2 separate regions of the Homo sapiens genome follow, and region 2 is linked to region 1. Evidence: promoter capture Hi-C in human tissues and cell types (Jung and others, 2019). All regions are on one chromosome and are shown on one strand. The core of a region is centred on a gene start or on the middle of the fragment in contact, and the rest is flanking DNA. Distances in the headings are between cores, read along the strand shown. Region 1 holds the start of IGFL1 (IGF like family member 1). Region 2 holds the start of NOVA2 (NOVA alternative splicing regulator 2).

What was found. Contacts are between HindIII fragments. The study calls those that stand out against the background at their distance.
Region 2: the fragment with the promoter of NOVA2 here is called in contact with the fragment with the promoter of IGFL1 in region 1 in 4 of the 25 tissues and cell types used here (IMR-90 fibroblasts, mesenchymal stem cells, spleen and 1 more).

The regions. Positions count from the first base shown.
Region 1 is chr19:46,226,974-46,231,423 of GRCh38, forward strand. It overlaps IGFL1 (IGF like family member 1), which reads left to right and starts at 2,769. Exons shown (of 4, transcript NM_198541.2): 1 at 2,769-2,826; 2 at 3,135-3,188; 3 at 3,301-3,544; 4 at 3,848-4,270. The coding sequence starts at 2,802. The coding sequence ends at 3,857. RefSeq lists an enhancer at 2,117-3,316. The HindIII fragment of the contact is 10,872 bases long and covers 1-4,450 here.
Region 2 is chr19:45,971,024-45,975,236 of GRCh38, forward strand. NOVA2 (NOVA alternative splicing regulator 2) reads right to left here and starts at 2,842. Exons shown (of 4, transcript NM_002516.4): 1 at 2,244-2,842. The coding sequence starts at 2,328. RefSeq lists a silencer at 3,008-3,167. The HindIII fragment of the contact is 35,305 bases long and covers 1-4,213 here.

The sequences.
Region 1 (4,450 bases), core at 1,519-4,018:
CTGTGTCACTGACAACCAGCAGCAGAACCTCAGCCCGTGTCCTGCTTGGATCCAGGAAGTGGGTGAGAGAATGATGGTGATGGTCGTTTGAGGTCAGGGTTTACATTTACTGTCCAGACACCTGGGATCTTCTCCAGACACTTGAGGACAGGCTTCCACTGGGAAATCCTGGTCCCACCTCACACATCTGGGTCCCCAGGCAGAAGACAGACCCATGCCCAGACGTGGACGCTCCAGAGTGGGCATGTTAGGAAGGGGGACTCCGAGGGATTGGTGGCGGGATTGGACATGGCTGTGTGCACAGACTCTTCTGACACCTTAGGAAGGTGCAGGGACAGGGTTTGAACGCAGGGCTGACTGACCCTAAAGCCTCCTCATGTCTAATTGGGGGCTCTTAGTGTCCAGGGAGCCCTGGACGGGTGCCCACTGGCCTCACACTGTCCCAGCCTCCGAGGCCTCCATGATCTGCTAAAATCTCCCTCTACCTTCCAGATGCTGCATTGACTCAGCTGCTCTGAGAGGCCAGGAAGGAGCAGCTGGACTCCTCCCTCCTCAGAGGTGCCCACCTTGCCCCTGCCCTGGGGAAGGTGCTCCACTCTCTCACTCTGGCTCATATGCAGGCAGCCTTGCCTCTTCTTGGTAGAGACAGTAAGACCAGTGCAGGGCTCCACTGCAGCCTCCCAGAAAATGCCTGGAACCAAGGACCTGAGAACTCTACCCCTTTATGGAAGACATCAAAGGGGAGACATGTCAGTGGCTCTTAGAGAAGAAGGAGATGATCCTGGAGGCTTCTGTGCTCCCAAGTGTCCTCACCATTTGGCTGTGACTCCCTCCAGAAACTAGATATCTAGTTCTAGATATGTGCTATGCTATCATATAATAATATCATACGATAGAACAATATAATAATATTCTATCATTACTTGGAATATACACAGTCCCAATAAGAGGGTCCTAAACAGGCTGGGCGCAGTGGCTCACACCTGTAATCACAGCACTTTGGGAGGCTGAGGTGAGCAGATCACTTGCGGTCAGAAGTTCAAGACCAGCCTGGCAAATACGGTAAAACCCCATCTCTATGGAGAATACACAAATTAGCCGGGTGTGTTGGCGGGCATCTGTAATCCCAGCTACTCAGAGACTGAGGCAGGAGAATCACTTGAACCTGGCAGGCAGAGGTTGCAGTGAGCCAAGATCGTGCAACTGCACTCCAGCCTGGGCAACTGAACAAGGCTTCATCTCAAAAAAATAAATAATTTTTTTTAAAGTGTCATAAACAGTTGAGCACAGCATTCTGTTGAATGCACACTGTCCCATTTTCTAACCCATTTCTTCACTTAAAAATAACATTGTTTATGCCCAAGTAAATTGATTTTCCATGCTACTAGCACATCCTAATCTGTGTCCTAGAAAACACTGCTGTACCCCACAGCAGCAAGGAACAGAGGCCAAGGGAGCAGACAGGGAGATGGTGCTGGAAGCAGGGTCTGCTCTGTCGAGGGAGAAGGTGGGTGCTGAGCACTCTGGTATTTATTGAAGTCATTTCTCTGCAGCCTCTTCCTGTGTCTCCTGCCTCCAGAGAGAAGCCCCTATCCGTGCTCCCCAGGAACACAGATGCAGGATCTTCCACACACACAAATCTAACCACATCCATGCCCTGCTAGGAGCCAGCCATGGTGCCTAGAGGGTGACAGGTCACCTTGCCTGGCCCGGAGGAGAACGGCTTGTCCATGCCATGTGTGGCCTGTGAGCTTGAGCGGAGGAATTCCTGCAGAAGCTGGGCAGGGGTAGGGGGGCACAGAACTGACCCAAAACAGCTCCTTCCCCTCTGTCCTCACATCCTGACCCCAAGATGGCTCTTCTCAGGGAAAATCACAACCCAACCCTCTGAAAAAGCACATTAAGGAAAAACACCTTTGAGAATCTCAGGGGGGGATGTGGAATTTCTCCACCAGAACTTCACAGTGATAATGACACCAAACACAAGAACGACAATAACCAAAATCAGGAGTTTTATTCTCCTACCTTCTCTCTCTCTCTCTCTCCTCTCACTGTCATGAACGTCACGAAGACACTGACTTTGCGTTTTCTACTCAGCACTGCATCACTGGTGTCTGACACGAAGCCTGGGACATGTAGGCTCCCAAGTGGACCTGTCCTGGGTAAATGACCATTAATGAGACAGAGAAGGAGATGAAGAGCCCCCAGAGGAGTGTTGAGTCCCAGGGGTCCCGCCAGCTCCACTCCCACCTTCCAAACCTGTGAAAGTCAGGTGCCTGAGTCACACAGTCTCTCCCACCTGAATGCCATGAGCTGCAGGTGACTGAGAAGTTACTGGATTCTTGACCATGTGTTTCGGTTGTGAGGTTGGGACCTAATGGGACCCTTTGAAATGATGTCATGGGTTAGCAATGTCCCAAGGAAACTGAGGAAAGTCATAGCTCAGTAGGATCCTGTGGAATCGCTGTGTGGACATGTGAGTGTCGGAGAGTGTTAATGCCAGGAGCATCCTGAACCTTCCTATTTTCCAGAGGACTCAGTGTGGGGGACGATTGGGGCACATAGCACAGAGAAGGTGGAGGGTGTACCGCTTCTCTCCTGATTACAAAGGTGAGATCAAAGCTACAATGACACGTACCCTGCCTGGCACCTCTCCTGCCCAAGGACCCAGCCTGTCTCTGCAGGACTTGCAGGAGGGCAGGAAATGCCATGACATCACCAGCTCCACTAGAAATATGGGATAAAAGGAGTGGCTGAGATCTGCTGATCCCCTCCTCACTCCACTGCAACCACCCAGAGCCATGGCTCCCCGAGGCTGCATCGTAGGTAAGGAGGACAGGACCCCATTCCCACCTGAGCCCATCTCCAATCTCAGCCACCACCAGGGCTCTCTCCCTACCCCAAACTACACCTCATCCCTGTTCCCATGCCCAGCCAAATCTCCAGGCGTGAATTGCTCACAGCAATTCCCCATCCATAGTGCCCAGATCAGCCCCATCCACAGCCCTGTTTCAGTCCCTGAGCTGCTCAAAGCCATACCGAGCCCTGGTTCCACCCAGTCTTCTTCTAAATGTCAGTGCCAGTCATATCTGTGGCTGTCCACTCACCCCATCTTCCCTTTCCCTTTCCCACAGCTGTCTTTGCCATTTTCTGCATCTCCAGGCTCCTCTGCTCACACGGAGCCCCAGGTGAGCCCAGGAGTGTTTGGGAAGCTGGAGGAGGGGTACACCTTCCAGGGGACCCCAGGCTGGGACCCACCTGCCACTACCTCCTGGATCTCACCAGCTCTGTCTCCTCCAGTGGCCCCCATGACTCCTTACCTGATGCTGTGCCAGCCACACAAGAGATGTGGGGACAAGTTCTACGACCCCCTGCAGCACTGTTGCTATGATGATGCCGTCGTGCCCTTGGCCAGGACCCAGACGTGTGGAAACTGCACCTTCAGAGTCTGCTTTGAGCAGTGCTGCCCCTGGACCTTCATGGTGAAGCTGATAAACCAGAACTGCGACTCAGCCCGGACCTCGGATGACAGGCTTTGTCGCAGGTGAGTCCTGTCCCCTCCGTGGGATTGTGGGTGCAGGGTAGCTGCATGCCTGTTCTGCCCTGGGTGGAGCCCCCATTCTCCTTGTCTCCCTGTCTCTGCCCCCTGCTTCTATTCAATCCACCTCTCCCTTTCCCTACACCTGTGTCTCCATCCATTTTTATTTCCCTCTCAGAATCTCACTCTCTCTACCCCGCTGTCCTCTCCTCCTGGCTCTCCTGTCCTCATTTCTGCCCATGTTCAGTCTCGCCCCCATCTCTGGCCATCTCTGTCCCGCTCAGTGTCTCTCTCTGTCACTATCTCCAGTGTCAGCTAATGGAACATCAGGGGAACGATGACTCCTGGATTCTCCTTCCTGGGTGGGCCTGGAGAAAGAGGCTGGTGTTACCTGAGATCTGGGATGCTGAGTGGCTGTTTGGGGGCCAGAGAAACACACACTCAACTGCCCACTTCATTCTGTGACCTGTCTGAGGCCCACCCTGCAGCTGCCCTGAGGAGGCCCACAGGTCCCCTTCTAGAATTCTGGACAGCATGAGATGCGTGTGCTGATGGGGGCCCAGGGACTCTGAACCCTCCTGATGACCCCTATGGCCAACATCAACCCGGCACCACCCCAAGGCTGGCTGGGGAACCCTTCACCCTTCTGTGAGATTTTCCATCATCTCAAGTTCTCTTCTATCCAGGAGCAAAGCACAGGATCATAATAAATTTATGTACTTTATAAATGAATGCTGTAGAATTCATGAATTAGAGAGCTTGGACTGTTGAAAGGGGTCACAGAGGGTGACGTGGGGCCCCTTCTCTCTGTCACCCTGAGGCATCTGGGCCTTTCCATTTGTTCTGTTCGTGCACACACTTATTTTCTCTTTTTCCATTTATTTTTAAATTTATTATTTTGTTATTTGTGCT
Region 2 (4,213 bases), core at 1,592-4,091, 260 kb before region 1:
CCTAGGGTTGGGTAAATTCTAGCTCCATCACTTAGAAACCGTGTGACCTTGGGCAAGCGGTTTCATTTTGCTGAGCCTCAGTTTTCCTCATCTGTAAAGATGCTCAAATCATGTCTCCCAGGGGTTGTACTGAGATATTAACCCATGTCTCAGAGTAGTAGGTGCCAAGTAGGCAGATGTGACTGTTATTAGCAGCAGTGGCATCAGTGTTAAGTTGTGCTGAGAAGTGATCAGATTCTAAGCATCTCAGTCCCTGTAGAGAAAGGTGGGAACCCCCTACCCTCTGGAGGACGGTGGTGGAGGGCTAGACAGTCTGGCTGGGCTCAGGGACCTCCTGGGTCCCTGACCTCTCCAGGACTGGGAACAGCAGTGGGGCAGGAAGGAGGGAAGGAAGTCGGGGACATATTCATGTGTGTGCTGGGGGTGGGGGAGCAGGAAGAAGGACAGGAAACTCCCTCCCATCCCCTCCCCCAACTTCCCTTTCCTCCAATTTCTGCTGGACACCCTCACAGGCATCCAGGGGGTCCCTGATTCCTGTCCCACCTGGATGGAGGTGGGGGAGGGCTAGGATGGGAGGAAGAAAGTCGGCTTGTATTCATCTGTAGGGAGGAGGTAGGAGGCCCCCACCCCACCCACTGCCAGGCCTGGCGGAGAGGAAAGGGTGCACTCTGCCTGAAGCCATCCCTCTCCCATCCGGAGGAAAAGGCCAGAGGAAGTGGAGATTTTGGCAAGGTGACCGCGGGGAGGGGCTTGTCCGCTGCGGGGTCTCCCTCCTACCAGGGAGCTAGAGGACAGGGCTCTGAGGACCCCAAAAAACCCCACCTCTTCCCTGAGCCCCCCACGGCAGGGCATGCACCTAGAGTTCCCAGCTCGGCTTTTCTTCTCTGGTACACACACCTCCTTGGGTCACACACCCAGGGAGAGCCCCTCTCTTCCCTCACACTGCCTTCCGTGGTGTCAAACATTCGGCAATCTCCAATACACACGGACACACACACAGCCTCCCTTGTCAAACACATGCAGAATCATCCCCATATCTCTGGTGTCACACACTCAGCCATTTCACACACACACCTCTCCTTGTTACACCCATACACACAGCTGGGTGTCATATGCACACGTGCCCTGTCACATGGGGACCCATCCTTCCTTCTCCTTTTTACACACCCTCGTGCGTTTCACCCACAAGCCCCAGCCTCTCCCTCGTCATACACCCACCTTCCCTGTTGCACACACCCCCTCTGATGTCACTGTTGCACACCTCCATGTGTCACACCCAGCCACAGCCTCTCTGGAGTCACACCCACACCCTTTTCTTGTCACATCCCCTCACCAGCCACGCCTGTGTCACACACACTGGACCCCTTTCCTCTGATCTACACGGCCTCTTCTGGCTGACACCCAGAGCCAGCCCATTCGGTGTCCCCCACACACCTCCTTGCATGTCACACACACCCTCTCATGTGTCACACTCTGCCACAGCCCCCTTGGGGGTGACAAGCACACACCTTTCCTTGTCACACGTACCCGCTGGAGGGTCTCAAACATGGAGCCCAGCCCCTGTCCCCTGTCTTTCTCATACACCCCCCTATGCTGTCATATTCCTGATCCCTAATGTCACACATCCAGGCTGTAGAGGGCACACATACACACACACGCACACACATACACACCTGTCCTAGCCTCACATTCTCCCACCTAGCTTTACACACCCACCATTTCCTCCATTTCACCCCACACACCTACCCAGCCTGTCCCCACGCACGATCCGGCCAGGGCCACACAAGCCTCCATCTGGGACAACCCTTGTTCAGGACATCCCCAGGGAGGGAGGCTGGGAAGCTCCCGGTCCACAGGCCTCTACTCCTTCCCCTCCCCCAGCCAGGACACGCGAGCTCGGGGAACACCCCTGCTCCGAAAGGGTCACATCACACACCCCTCAAGGACACACAGACACCTGCCCTGAGGCTCCCACGCCCCCCATCTTCTGCGCCCCCCAAGGACACTTATCACCCCCTCCCCCCCACCCCTCTCCTCGCAGACAAAGCTCCCAGCCCCGGGCCTCAGCGAGAGGAGGAGGGGGTCCAGCCCCCTCCTCAACTCCCCGCTCTGTCCCCCGCCTCGGGGAGGGGTGTCTCTCCCCTCCCCAGAGCCCTTGCACCTGCCACGGGAGGGGGGGAAAGGATGGAGAAAGGCGAGGCCCCCTGCCCGCTCCCCCGCCCCGAGCCGCAGCCCTTTCTCACCTCCCGTGTTGCTGCGCTTGGTGCAGACCACCTCGGGGGGCGTTTCGAGGGGCCTCTTGCGGGAATCCGGGGCCTCGGGCTCCATGGGGGGGGCCTGGGGCGGCGGCTGCTGCTGCTGCGGCGGCTGCGGCGGCGGCGGCGGCGGCTGCTGTGGCGGCGGCGACGGCTGCTGGGGAGGCTGGGGTTGCGGCGGCGGCGGCGGCGGGGGCGGCGGCGGCTGCGGGGCCGCGGAGGCCGTGAAGAGGCCGTGCACCGCGCCGGCGGCCATCATCCTCATGGTGGGGGGGGGCGGGGGGCGGGGGGCGGGGGAGGGGGAGGGGAGGGGAGGTGGGAGGGGGAGGGGGCGGTGGAGGGATGGGGGAGGGGGAGCCCCGGAGAGGGAAGGCGGGGGTAGGGGGGAGCCGGTTCTCGGGGGGCTGACAGAGCCTGGAGAGCGGCCGTGAGCAGGATGGCAGGGCCGAGGGGGGTCTCCGATAGGGCCGGGAAAGAACTGAGAGGTGGGGTCTCTCCTGGGACCACAGAGGCTGGGGACTGGACGCGCCACTGGGGGGACGGGACTCCCCGCTTCTTCTTGGCTCCCTGGGGCAAGAGGGCCGAGCCCCCCAGACCCTGCTCGGGGTGGGGGGCCGGAGGAGCGTGGCCGGAGTGGGAGGCGGAGGCGGCCGCTAGTGGGGGCCCGGGGGGCGGCGGGCGCGGGCGGCGGCGGCGACGGGGCTGGCGGTGGCTGCTGGCCCGAGCATCTTCTTCCCGGAGGCTCCCACAGCGCCTGGCCCCTCCCACCCAACGAGGTCACGCCCATGCCGGGTAGGGCCACGCCCTTCGGCGCCCCCATTGGTCCAGCCTTGAAGCCTGGACCACGTCCCTCTGGGTTGGCCACGCCCCTCCCGGCGGCAGAGAGCTGGACCCGACTCCCCCAGGCTGCTGGGAGGACCCCGGGCTCCTCCAAGCCGTCCCCACTCCTCACCTTGAATGAACGTTTATTGAGCACTTACTGTGTGCCAGGTCCGGTTCCAAGCAAGCACGTCACAGACGTTATCGCATTTACTCCCCAGAGCGACCAGCTCTGTGAGTTACGCTTATTATCCCTATTTTACAGATGAGGAAACAGCCTTAGGAGCTTACTTTGACTTCACTTGGTCAAGACAAGAAATTTCGACTAGGCGCGGTGGTTCATGCCTGTCATCCCAGCACTTTGGGAGGCCGAGGCGGAAGAATCACTTGAGCCCAGGAGTTTGAGACGAGCTGGGCAACAATATTGTGAGACCCCATCTCTACAAAAAAAAAATTTTTTTTTTAATTAGCCAGGCGTGGTAGCACATGCTTGTAGCCCCAGGTACTCTGGAGTCTGAGGTGGGAGGATCTCTTGAGCACAGGAGTTTGAGGCTGCAGTCAGCCATGATCAAGCAACTAGATTCGAGCCTGGGAGACAGAGCAAAACCTTGTCTCAAAAAAAAAAAAAAAAAAGAAAGAAAGAAAGAGAAAGAAATTTCACTTCACTCTTTTTCAATCCTTTCAGCTGGGAAATTCCCCTTCAAATCTTTCATCCATCCTTTGAAGAATCAACACCGTGATGCTGAAAGGGCTCAGAGGATTGAATTCACTGAGCTGGAGTTGCAGCCTGCAGCACCTGCCCTGGGGCACAACTGGCTCTCCATTCAAACAACAGCACTCAGGGCCTACCTACTAAGTGCCAGGCACTGTCCCTGATGCTGCGATACAATAGAGAACAAAACAGCCTTGGCCCTTGTACAGTATTACTACTCATGTCATTAAGAAAAATTTGTTTTCAGATGACAAAGTGGAGGCCTGGGAACATTGAGGGTGGCTTCTTCAAGGGCACACAGCTTGAGAGAGAGAAACTGGGATGAGAACGCAGGACAAGTCCAATTTCAGAGCCCAAAGTCATTGGAACTAGGGTGCCTTTCTTTGGAATGGATCATTGCTATTATTCTGTGTTCCTTGATGCAAGA